2 separate regions of the Homo sapiens genome follow, and region 1 is linked to region 2. The links are contacts of gene promoters, found by promoter capture Hi-C in blood cells and fetal thymus (Javierre and others, 2016). All regions are on one chromosome and are shown on one strand. Each heading gives the region's core, a stretch centred on a gene start or on the middle of the fragment in contact. The rest is flanking DNA. Distances are from core to core; before and after follow the strand shown. Region 1 overlaps CCDC192 (coiled-coil domain containing 192). Region 2 holds the start of SLC12A2 (solute carrier family 12 member 2).

Evidence for each region. The method cuts DNA at HindIII sites, captures the fragments that hold promoters and counts their contacts. A CHiCAGO score of 5 or more calls a contact.
Region 1: a fragment that was not itself captured here is called in contact with the fragment with the promoter of SLC12A2 in region 2 in 1 of 17 cell types (endothelial precursors); the score reaches 5.5 in endothelial precursors.

The regions. Positions count from the first base shown.
Region 1 is chr5:127,937,411-127,942,027 of GRCh38, forward strand. CCDC192 (coiled-coil domain containing 192) reads left to right here. Exons shown (of 7, transcript NM_001317938.2): 7 at 3,772-4,097. The coding sequence ends at 4,058. SLC12A2-DT (SLC12A2 divergent transcript) reads right to left here. Exons shown (of 4, transcript NR_152813.1): 4 at 3,030-3,810. Among named protein-coding and RNA genes, the nearest start is that of SLC12A2-DT, 140 kb to the right of the region's middle. The HindIII fragment of the contact is 877 bases long and covers 2,814-3,690 here.
Region 2 is chr5:128,080,946-128,085,099 of GRCh38, forward strand. It overlaps SLC12A2 (solute carrier family 12 member 2), which reads left to right and starts at 2,821. Exons shown (of 27, transcript NM_001046.3): 1 at 2,821-3,765. The coding sequence starts at 3,010. It overlaps SLC12A2-DT (SLC12A2 divergent transcript), which reads right to left and starts at 2,230. Exons shown (of 4, transcript NR_152813.1): 1 at 2,025-2,230. RefSeq lists a silencer at 2,485-3,314 and an enhancer at 3,805-3,974. The HindIII fragment of the contact is 20,683 bases long and covers 1-4,154 here.

The DNA of each region.
Region 1 (4,617 bases), core at 2,002-4,501, 140 kb before region 2:
CATGAGAGTGGGCCTTTCATGATGCAGCCAGTGCCCTTATAAGAAGAGATATGAGAGAGGTTTTGGTCTCTCTCTTTCTGCCATGTGAGGACGCAGCATAAAGGTGGCCAGGAAGAGAGTCCTCACCAGAACCTGACCATCCTGACACCCTGATCTGAGACTTCCAGCCCCCAGAACTATAAAAAAGTTTCTTGTTTAAGCCACCCCATCTGTAGTACTTTGTGATAGCAGCCCAAGCTGCCTAGACACTTGCTTCTCCTCTCATTTTCTTTCCACCTTCTCCCTGTAATACTCTCTTCCAGAAGGGCGATGTGGTCCTAGTGACCGTGACTGCCTATGCAATGCCGCTTCGCCGCATTTTTGCTGCTGTATCATTAGAGCTGGGTGAACTCTACCTATACTGCATTGTCTAAAAACGTTTTGACCAGTTTGACCAGGGGTGACACTAAACTCCTTTCTTCATTGTACAAATCCGTTGAAAATAACTCATTCTAAAAGCAGAGGAAAAACTGAGGAGAGAAAAGATGGAAGGAGAAGTCAAAGAGGAAGAAGACGTCAGACAGGCACAGTGAGGTTCCAATGCACCCCCCTCCACCCCTGCCCCCTGCTGAGGCCCTGCATCCCCCACTGTTCACTGCTCCTCTCCTCAGCATCTTCCCTGGCCACTTTGCTGCCATTTTCCTTCTCCTACTCCTGATGAAACTCACTTCGACCCACCTGAATCAGTTTCTTATGTAGTTTAAGGAGTAGCTTAGGGACTGAGAGAAACATTACTGTCAGTCACGGATACAAAAGCCTGCTACCTGGGTACCTACACACCTGCTTAAGGTGGGGCAGCTTTGCTGTGGTAGTGCATTCAGGCAAGAAATCACCCATTCCCCAGCAAATAAAATTAATTGGCAGTCATCACTTTTTGCCAAACTTTGATTTCCATGACTCCATCCTCTGGGGTAACAGAAAAATAATCTGTGTGCCAATGCTTGAGGACCAGAGATCCTCCCTCTCAAACAATATCTGTGCAGGTTAACTAGAGCCATCTCCAGGTAACACATCCACCTGGGTTTCAGAGAGAGCTCATCTGGAAGGAAATGCTAGCCCAGCATTATCCAACAGAAATATAATGGGAGCCACAAATGCAAGCCATGTATTTTAAATTTTCTAGGAGCCACATTTTTAAAAACATAAAAATAAGTCAGTTAAATTATTTTAAAAATACATTTTCTTTAACACAATGTATTCTAAATATTATCATTTTAATGCATAAGCAATATAGAAAATTTGAAGTATTTAACATTTTTTAAACTAAATCTCCCAGTCAAATGTGTATTTTACATTAAAGCACATTTTTATTCAGACTAGCCACATTCCATTGCTTAATGGTCACATGTGACTAGTGACTACTGTATTGGACAGCACAGCTCCAGCCAAATGAAAGGAAAGGTGAGACCCTGGCACATCAGGAGATGAGGAAGGCCTCCTGCCATATGGACTCCCTCTCCTGGGCTGGAAAGCACAGGCATGAAAGGAAAGGTGAGAGCTTGGCACACCAGGAGATGAGGAAGGCCTCCTGCCATATGGACTCTCTCTCCTGGGCTGGAAAGCACAGGCTTATCGCAGAGGCAATGAACTAAATGCTTTTTTGAAATTTGAGCTGTTTTCCCGTTGCTTGTTAACTTATGAAAGGCACTCAAACCAACATCTTTTTTTTTTTTTTTTTTTTTTTTTGAGATGGAGTCTCACTCTGTCGCCCAGGCTGGAATGCTGTGGCACAATCTCAGCTCAATGCAACCTGCAACTCCCAGGTTGAAGTGATTCTCGAGCCTCAGCCTCCCGAGTAGCTGGGATTACAGGTGTGCACCACCACACCTGGCTAATATTTGTATTTTTAGTAGAGATGAGGTTTCACCATTTGGCCAGGCTGGTCTTAAACTCCTGACCTCAAGTAATCCACCTGCTTCAGCCTCCCAAAGTGCTGGGATTACAGGCGTGAGCCACCGTGCCCCACCTTCAAACCAACATCTTAAATATTATTGTTATAATATTAAACATTCTAACAAATTCAGAGCAAAAATTTCCCCATGGATTCTTAAATGTTAGTAAAGAGCTAATAATTTCTAAGAGCAGAGAATAGCCTGTTGTCTCCTCTTATCACTTTTATGAAGCCAAAAACACCCTGCCCACTGTGCAATATGCTGCCAAAGATTTTACCCCTTGATCCCTTGGGAATGTGATGACTGCCAATTAATTTTATTTGTTGAGAAACGGGTTATTTTTATGTTTTTTTTTTTTTTTGCCTGCGCGCACTACTACAGCAAAGCTGGTCCATTTTCAGCAGGTGTATAGGTACCTAATAGCAGCAGGCTTTTGTATCTGAGACTGACAGTAATGTTTCTCTCAGGTGAAGCTGTGAGATTTGTTTTCACTGGGAATCTCATAAATGTGGGACCTCAATTGTAACAATCTACCGTGGAGACCACGCATCAGGTTCATTCATACATGCCATAAGCTCCATTAGTGCTGAAATGATACCCAAGCCCTTGATATCTCTTCCTACTTATACCTAAGTCTGCCTTTTATATAGCTCCGAGACATTTAATGCTGGAAATTTTGAGAGTGGTGGGGTACTGCTAAAGGCTAGTAAGATGGACTTGAGTTTAAGGTGCTGCATTTTTTGATGGGCTAGAGAGGTGTGTTTTCAAGGACTCCTTATGGCCACTCATCTTTTATCTCTTTGTGGAACCTCTCTCTGTCCTTTCTGACTCAGGCCTTTATCCTCATCTGAGTGGTTAACTGATAGAAATTGATAAAGGATAAGCTTTCATGTCCAAGAGGTATCTGTGATTTTATTAAGAAGTGCCAAAAAGACTTCAGGCCTAAAAGAAATGAATCTGTATGGGAAATACCATGCTAATAGAGTTTTCCTGGATCACCTCAAATTGCATCCTTGCCGACTCTAAAGCTGACTTGGGTTAAGAAACTAGTCTTTCCTCATTATCACTTTCCCCAGAAAGGGCAATGGCAACCTTTTCGTTATTTATTTATTTATTTATTTATTTATACACAGAGTCTCGCTCTGTCGCCCAGGCTGGAGTGCAGTAGCATGATCTCGGCTCACTGCAACCTCTGCCTCCTGGGTTCACGCCATTCTCCTGCCTCAGCCTCCCGAGTAGCTGGGACTACAGGCGCCTGCCACCACGCCCGGCTAATTTTTTGTATTTTTAGTAGGGATCGGGTTTCACCGTGTTAGCCAGGATGGTCTCGATCTCCTGACCTCGTGATCCGTCCACCTCAGCCTCCCAAAGCGCTGGGATTACAGGCATGAGCCACCGCGTCCGGCCCTCATTTTTTATTTTCAATTGAATTAGAATTCAAATCAAAGCATAATTCTACTTGATTATAGCTCTTGTGAAAGATTCTTAGGGAAAAGAATAACATGAACGTTAGGATGGCCTTTGTTTGTAGATTGGATTTTCATGAATTATTCCCATGGTTAACTGAAAGTTAAATGCATATAAACAAGAGTTGGCAAGGGCTGATGCTGTACACTCTCAAGAGGCTCCCAAGTTTTGTTTTGTTTCTTTTTTCATGAGCACCCAGAATCTTTCCTCTCACTGGATCCAGATTTTATTCTCAGGGTATCTAACCAGATGATGCAACATCTGTGCTCTCTTTTAAGAACGTGAGAAATGAAGCTTTTTCATTTTTCCTTGCTTTGACTTCTGGGAAATCTAATCAAAACTGCTCAGACTTTCCTTTTCTTGTTTGCTTTAGAAGACAGCTTGCTGGAAGGGTTCTGTGGAGGTCTCCCACCTGTGGAAGAAGGTGATAGAAAAATTAGCCTGATAATGGAACTGTCAACCCAGGTTTCCCTTCAGACTGAGAGAATTACTCAGCTGAAAGAAGTTTTGGAGGAAAAGGAAAGGAAGATTCAGCAGCTGGAAGCTGAGCGGAGTCCCCATCCTCCCCAAGAGGTCAAGGACCCTCCAGGATGTTTACCAGAAGCCCCAGTTTTCTCTACTCATGACATCCCACCTGTGGTCTCTGATGAGAATTTGTAGATTCCCAATAAGAAAACAATAAAAGTTTATTAAGTGTCATCCAGGTAAAGTCTGATACCAAATAGTCTCCTAGGTGACAAACTCAAGTTCAAGTTCATGTGTTTGAATGTATACTATCATGTTCGTATTGGAAGGAAACAAAAAAAAGGAAATGTTCAAGAGCAAACACTGAATGTTTCCCCTTTGGACAGTAATAGTCACGTAAACCACGCAGCTGTAGAATACTATGTTTTTAGACATTCCTGGTAGCAGTGGGGGAGGGAAGAAAACAAAACTAGACAGATGGTGAAAGAACTTAGCATTATCCTCTTAGCAGAGATTTGTCACACTGCAAGGGAGGGGTGGCACCAACCCCGTTTAGTATGCAGCTCTATTGTGAACAGAAAGCTGTCGCGGAGGGCCAGCTTCAAACTCGTGAATGCGCGGGTACTAAAGAGCAGGAGCTAAAGAGCAGGAGCCGTCAGCAGAGTAAATAGCCATGAGGTCTGTCCTTTCATGTCCTCAGGAGTTTATTTCTTTATGGCATGCATTTTATTAACATTAGCAAGGATAGAAAGGA
Region 2 (4,154 bases), core at 1,571-4,070:
GGTGCCCTTATAAGAAAAGAGACAACGCTCTCTTTATCATCTGAGGAGACATTGAGAAGGTACTGTCTGCAAGCCAAAAAGAAAACCCGAACATGATCATGCTGGCATTCTGATCTCAGACTTCCAGCAGGCAGAACTGTGAGAAAATATATTTCTACTGTTTGAGCCACCCAATCTATGTATTTTGTTATGGCAGCCTGAGCTGACTAACACACTATTCTACTAAAAAAGTCAAGTATGTCTAACAGCCAAAAAAGGTCCTAAACATTCTGATCTACTACATCCCATATCCTAAGCTCTCTGATGTAATTGCCTTTGATTCTTCACATCTCTTAAGCAAGTTCCAGCCAAACTGGCTTACATGCAATTCCGTGAGCATGCTAAGCATGCTCCTGCCTTTGGGTCTTTGGTTTCCCTCTGCTTCAGACACTTTTTTTCCCAAGAACTCATATCACTCACTTCCTTACTCAAATATCACCTTCTCAGTGAGGCCATCCTATGGAAAATTTTATGATCCTCATTTCACACAAATATCCCATTTCCCTTTCCTTAGTACTCACTGCTTGGATGCTATGTATTTTACCTATTTATCTTGTCTATTGTTTCTCTTTCTCACTAGAAAGAACTCCATGAGAGATGGGATTGTCCGTTTTGCTCACTGCTATATCCCGTAAATACAGAGTAGCTCATAGTACCTGTTCAGTATTTATTCAACTAAATGAATGTTGAATTCCAATAGTGGCAGAATTCGTTGTGGAGCTGAAAGGTACTGCACGGATCAACTACTAATGCAGCAATTCCCTAGTAGAAAACTGCACTGCTTAAAGGACCACCTCATTTTTCTGGCCTCCTCTGGTTATTACTAAAGCTCAAAAGGAGCTTTAAAAATCCTGATGCAACAGCTGTTTTCCCCTCTCACCGTCTTTAAAAATAGAGATAATAAAATAGCCTGAAAAGTTGTCAAGTTCAAGTAAGATCATGTTTATGACAATTTTTTGAAAATTGCCTGGTTGCAGCTTTTACTTACAGCATTTTCAAACAGTTCTGCCAACTCTGTGGCTCTTTCATCATGTTTCAAGTGTTCAGCAAACGATGGTGTTCGTCTCCATAAAGTCAAAGTTTAAAAATACAAGGGCCGGGCGCGGTGGCTCATGCCTGTAATCCCAGCACTTGGAGAGGCGGAGGTGGGCGGATCACGAGGTCAGGAGATCGAGACCATCCTGGCTAACACGGTGAAACCCCGACTCTACTAAAAATACAAAAAATTAGCAGGGCGTGATGGCGGGCGCCTGTAGTCCCAACTACTCAGGAGGCTGAGGCAGGAGGAGAATGGCGTGAACCCAGGAGGCGGAGTTTGCAGTGAGCCAAGATCGCACCCCTGCACTACAGCTTGGGCGACAGAGCGAGACTCCGTCTCAAAAAAAAAAAAAAAAAGTACATAAATAAAAACCAAGTAATTGGAGGACGCCATTCATTGATTTTACTTAGGACTTTGGGCATAATCTATAGGTTTAAAAATTTCTGCTGCTAAGAAAGTGGGAACACAGTTATATTCCCTTACATTTTACCGAAGAGAAACTAGACCTGCAGAGGAGTACCTTTCTGTTTCTATATAAGCAGAGGAATTCTGCACAACCCAAATCACGCAGAAACCTCCTGGTAAGGACTCCACGGGTAGTTATTGCCGGCATTGTATTCTGAGAGATGAGCTGCATATCACTTTTGGAAATGCCTTAAATTAAAACTCGTCTTGAAACAACATGACGTCTCAAAGAAGCTCCCTTCTCACCTTGGAACATCAGCTTTTAAAATAAAGGTGTCATCAGAAGTGTGTAGACACCCACTGCATCACAACTGGAACTGATCTCTGGTTATGCCAATCTAGGTCTGCCTGGCAGGGTGAGTCTACCGCTCGAAAGCTGCACAGAGGAAATCCTCCCTCCTCCAGGTTCAGGCCCGGAGTTACGAGCGGAGATTCGCGGCGGCGGGTCAGAGCCCAGAGCAAACCAGGCTGGGGAACGCACCTCGCCCGCGGCTCCGGAAGCGGCTGCGGCCCCGACCGGAAAGCCCCCAGCATCGCCCGAAGGAATCGCGGCTGGCCTGCGGCTCCGGCCCGGCCTCGGGTACCACGCGCCTAGTGGGAAGCCGCACTGACGCCTGCAGCATCTCGCGAGATTTCGGGCTCAGCCCAAGTACTGCGAGTTCACCAAAGCGGGGGGAAAAAAAAAAAGCCAGCGTGCGAGAGCCTCTGAAGCCGTGGCTGGGGCGCTGGGGTGGCAGCTGCCGCGGGAGCATCAGCTACCGGCGTGAGGCGAGGCAGGGCACGCGCGCCGTCCGCAGCCCCGTTGCCTGGGCTGCAGGTCCACTGACGCGCGGCCCCTGGGTGGAGAGAGGGGAGGTGGCCTGGGAGCCCGCTCCTTTTCGCCGCAGAGCGCGGCGGGGGAGGGAGGTGAAGGCGTGGGAGGAAGGCGGCGGAAGAGGAGGTAGCCGCGCGGAGATCCTCCCGGCGACATCACTGAGGCGGAGCGTAGCCGCGCCTGCTCCCCGATCGCGCCGTTCGTGCTGCCCGCACTGCCCGAGGCCCTTTGCGGACTGGCTGGCCGCGCTCTTCGCACGGGGCGCTTTTGCGTGGGGTCGCGCAGGAGCCGCGGAGGGCCGGATCGCTGAGGGAGCGTCAGCCGCGCGCCGCTGCGGGACCGCGGGTGGGCGGGCTGAGGGGCGGAGGAGCCTCCGGCCCCGCCTCCCGCGTGCTGCTGCCGGAGCCGCCGCCGCCGCAGCCCCGCCGAGGCTTTAAACAGCGGGGCCCGCCCCGCGCCCGCCACACTCGCGCGCTCGCTCGGCTGCCGGTGGCCTCTGTGGCCGTCCAGGCTAGCGGCGGCCCGCAGGCGGCGGGGAGAAAGACTCTCTCACCTGGTCTTGCGGCTGTGGCCACCGCCGGCCAGGGGTGTGGAGGGCGTGCTGCCGGAGACGTCCGCCGGGCTCTGCAGTTCCGCCGGGGGTCGGGCAGCTATGGAGCCGCGGCCCACGGCGCCCTCCTCCGGCGCCCCGGGACTGGCCGGGGTCGGGGAGACGCCGTCAGCCGCTGCGCTGGCCGCAGCCAGGGTGGAACTGCCCGGCACGGCTGTGCCCTCGGTGCCGGAGGATGCTGCGCCCGCGAGCCGGGACGGCGGCGGGGTCCGCGATGAGGGCCCCGCGGCGGCCGGGGACGGGCTGGGCAGACCCTTGGGGCCCACCCCGAGCCAGAGCCGTTTCCAGGTGGACCTGGTTTCCGAGAACGCCGGGCGGGCCGCTGCTGCGGCGGCGGCGGCGGCGGCGGCAGCGGCGGCGGCTGGTGCTGGGGCGGGGGCCAAGCAGACCCCCGCGGACGGGGAAGCCAGCGGCGAGAGCGAGCCGGCTAAAGGCAGCGAGGAAGCCAAGGGCCGCTTCCGCGTGAACTTCGTGGACCCAGCTGCCTCCTCGTCGGCTGAAGACAGCCTGTCAGATGCTGCCGGGGTCGGAGTCGACGGGCCCAACGTGAGCTTCCAGAACGGCGGGGACACGGTGCTGAGCGAGGGCAGCAGCCTGCACTCCGGCGGCGGCGGCGGCAGTGGGCACCACCAGCACTACTATTATGATACCCACACCAACACCTACTACCTGCGCACCTTCGGCCACAACACCATGGACGCTGTGCCCAGGATCGATCACTACCGGCACACAGCCGCGCAGCTGGGCGAGAAGCTGCTCCGGCCTAGCCTGGCGGAGCTCCACGACGAGCTGGAAAAGGTGAGCTCGCCCAGCCCTCCCTTCTTCCCCAGCCCCTGGTGCATGCCGACCGCGGGATGTGGCTGCAGACTCTTCCCGAGTTGAGGTGGCGGGAGTAGTAGACGTGCACGACTTGCTGGCATCTCTGGATTCAGCTGTCAAGGGTGGAATTGCCGAGGAATGTTAACTTAATCTCTCAAAAGTTTGTAGCGGGTTTGGCTAGTTACGTGATACCGGAGGGCTGCCTCTAACAACCTTCCCCATCCAGTTAGGTATCTCGTGTGCACTTTCTTTCCCACCCACGCTCAACAGTCACCATCCCTCTGAATGACAGTAGTGTTTGTGGGCCCTTTAGAGGAGAATGTGCAGTGAGGATCTCTCGAGAGAGGTTGGAGAGCACCTACCATCTG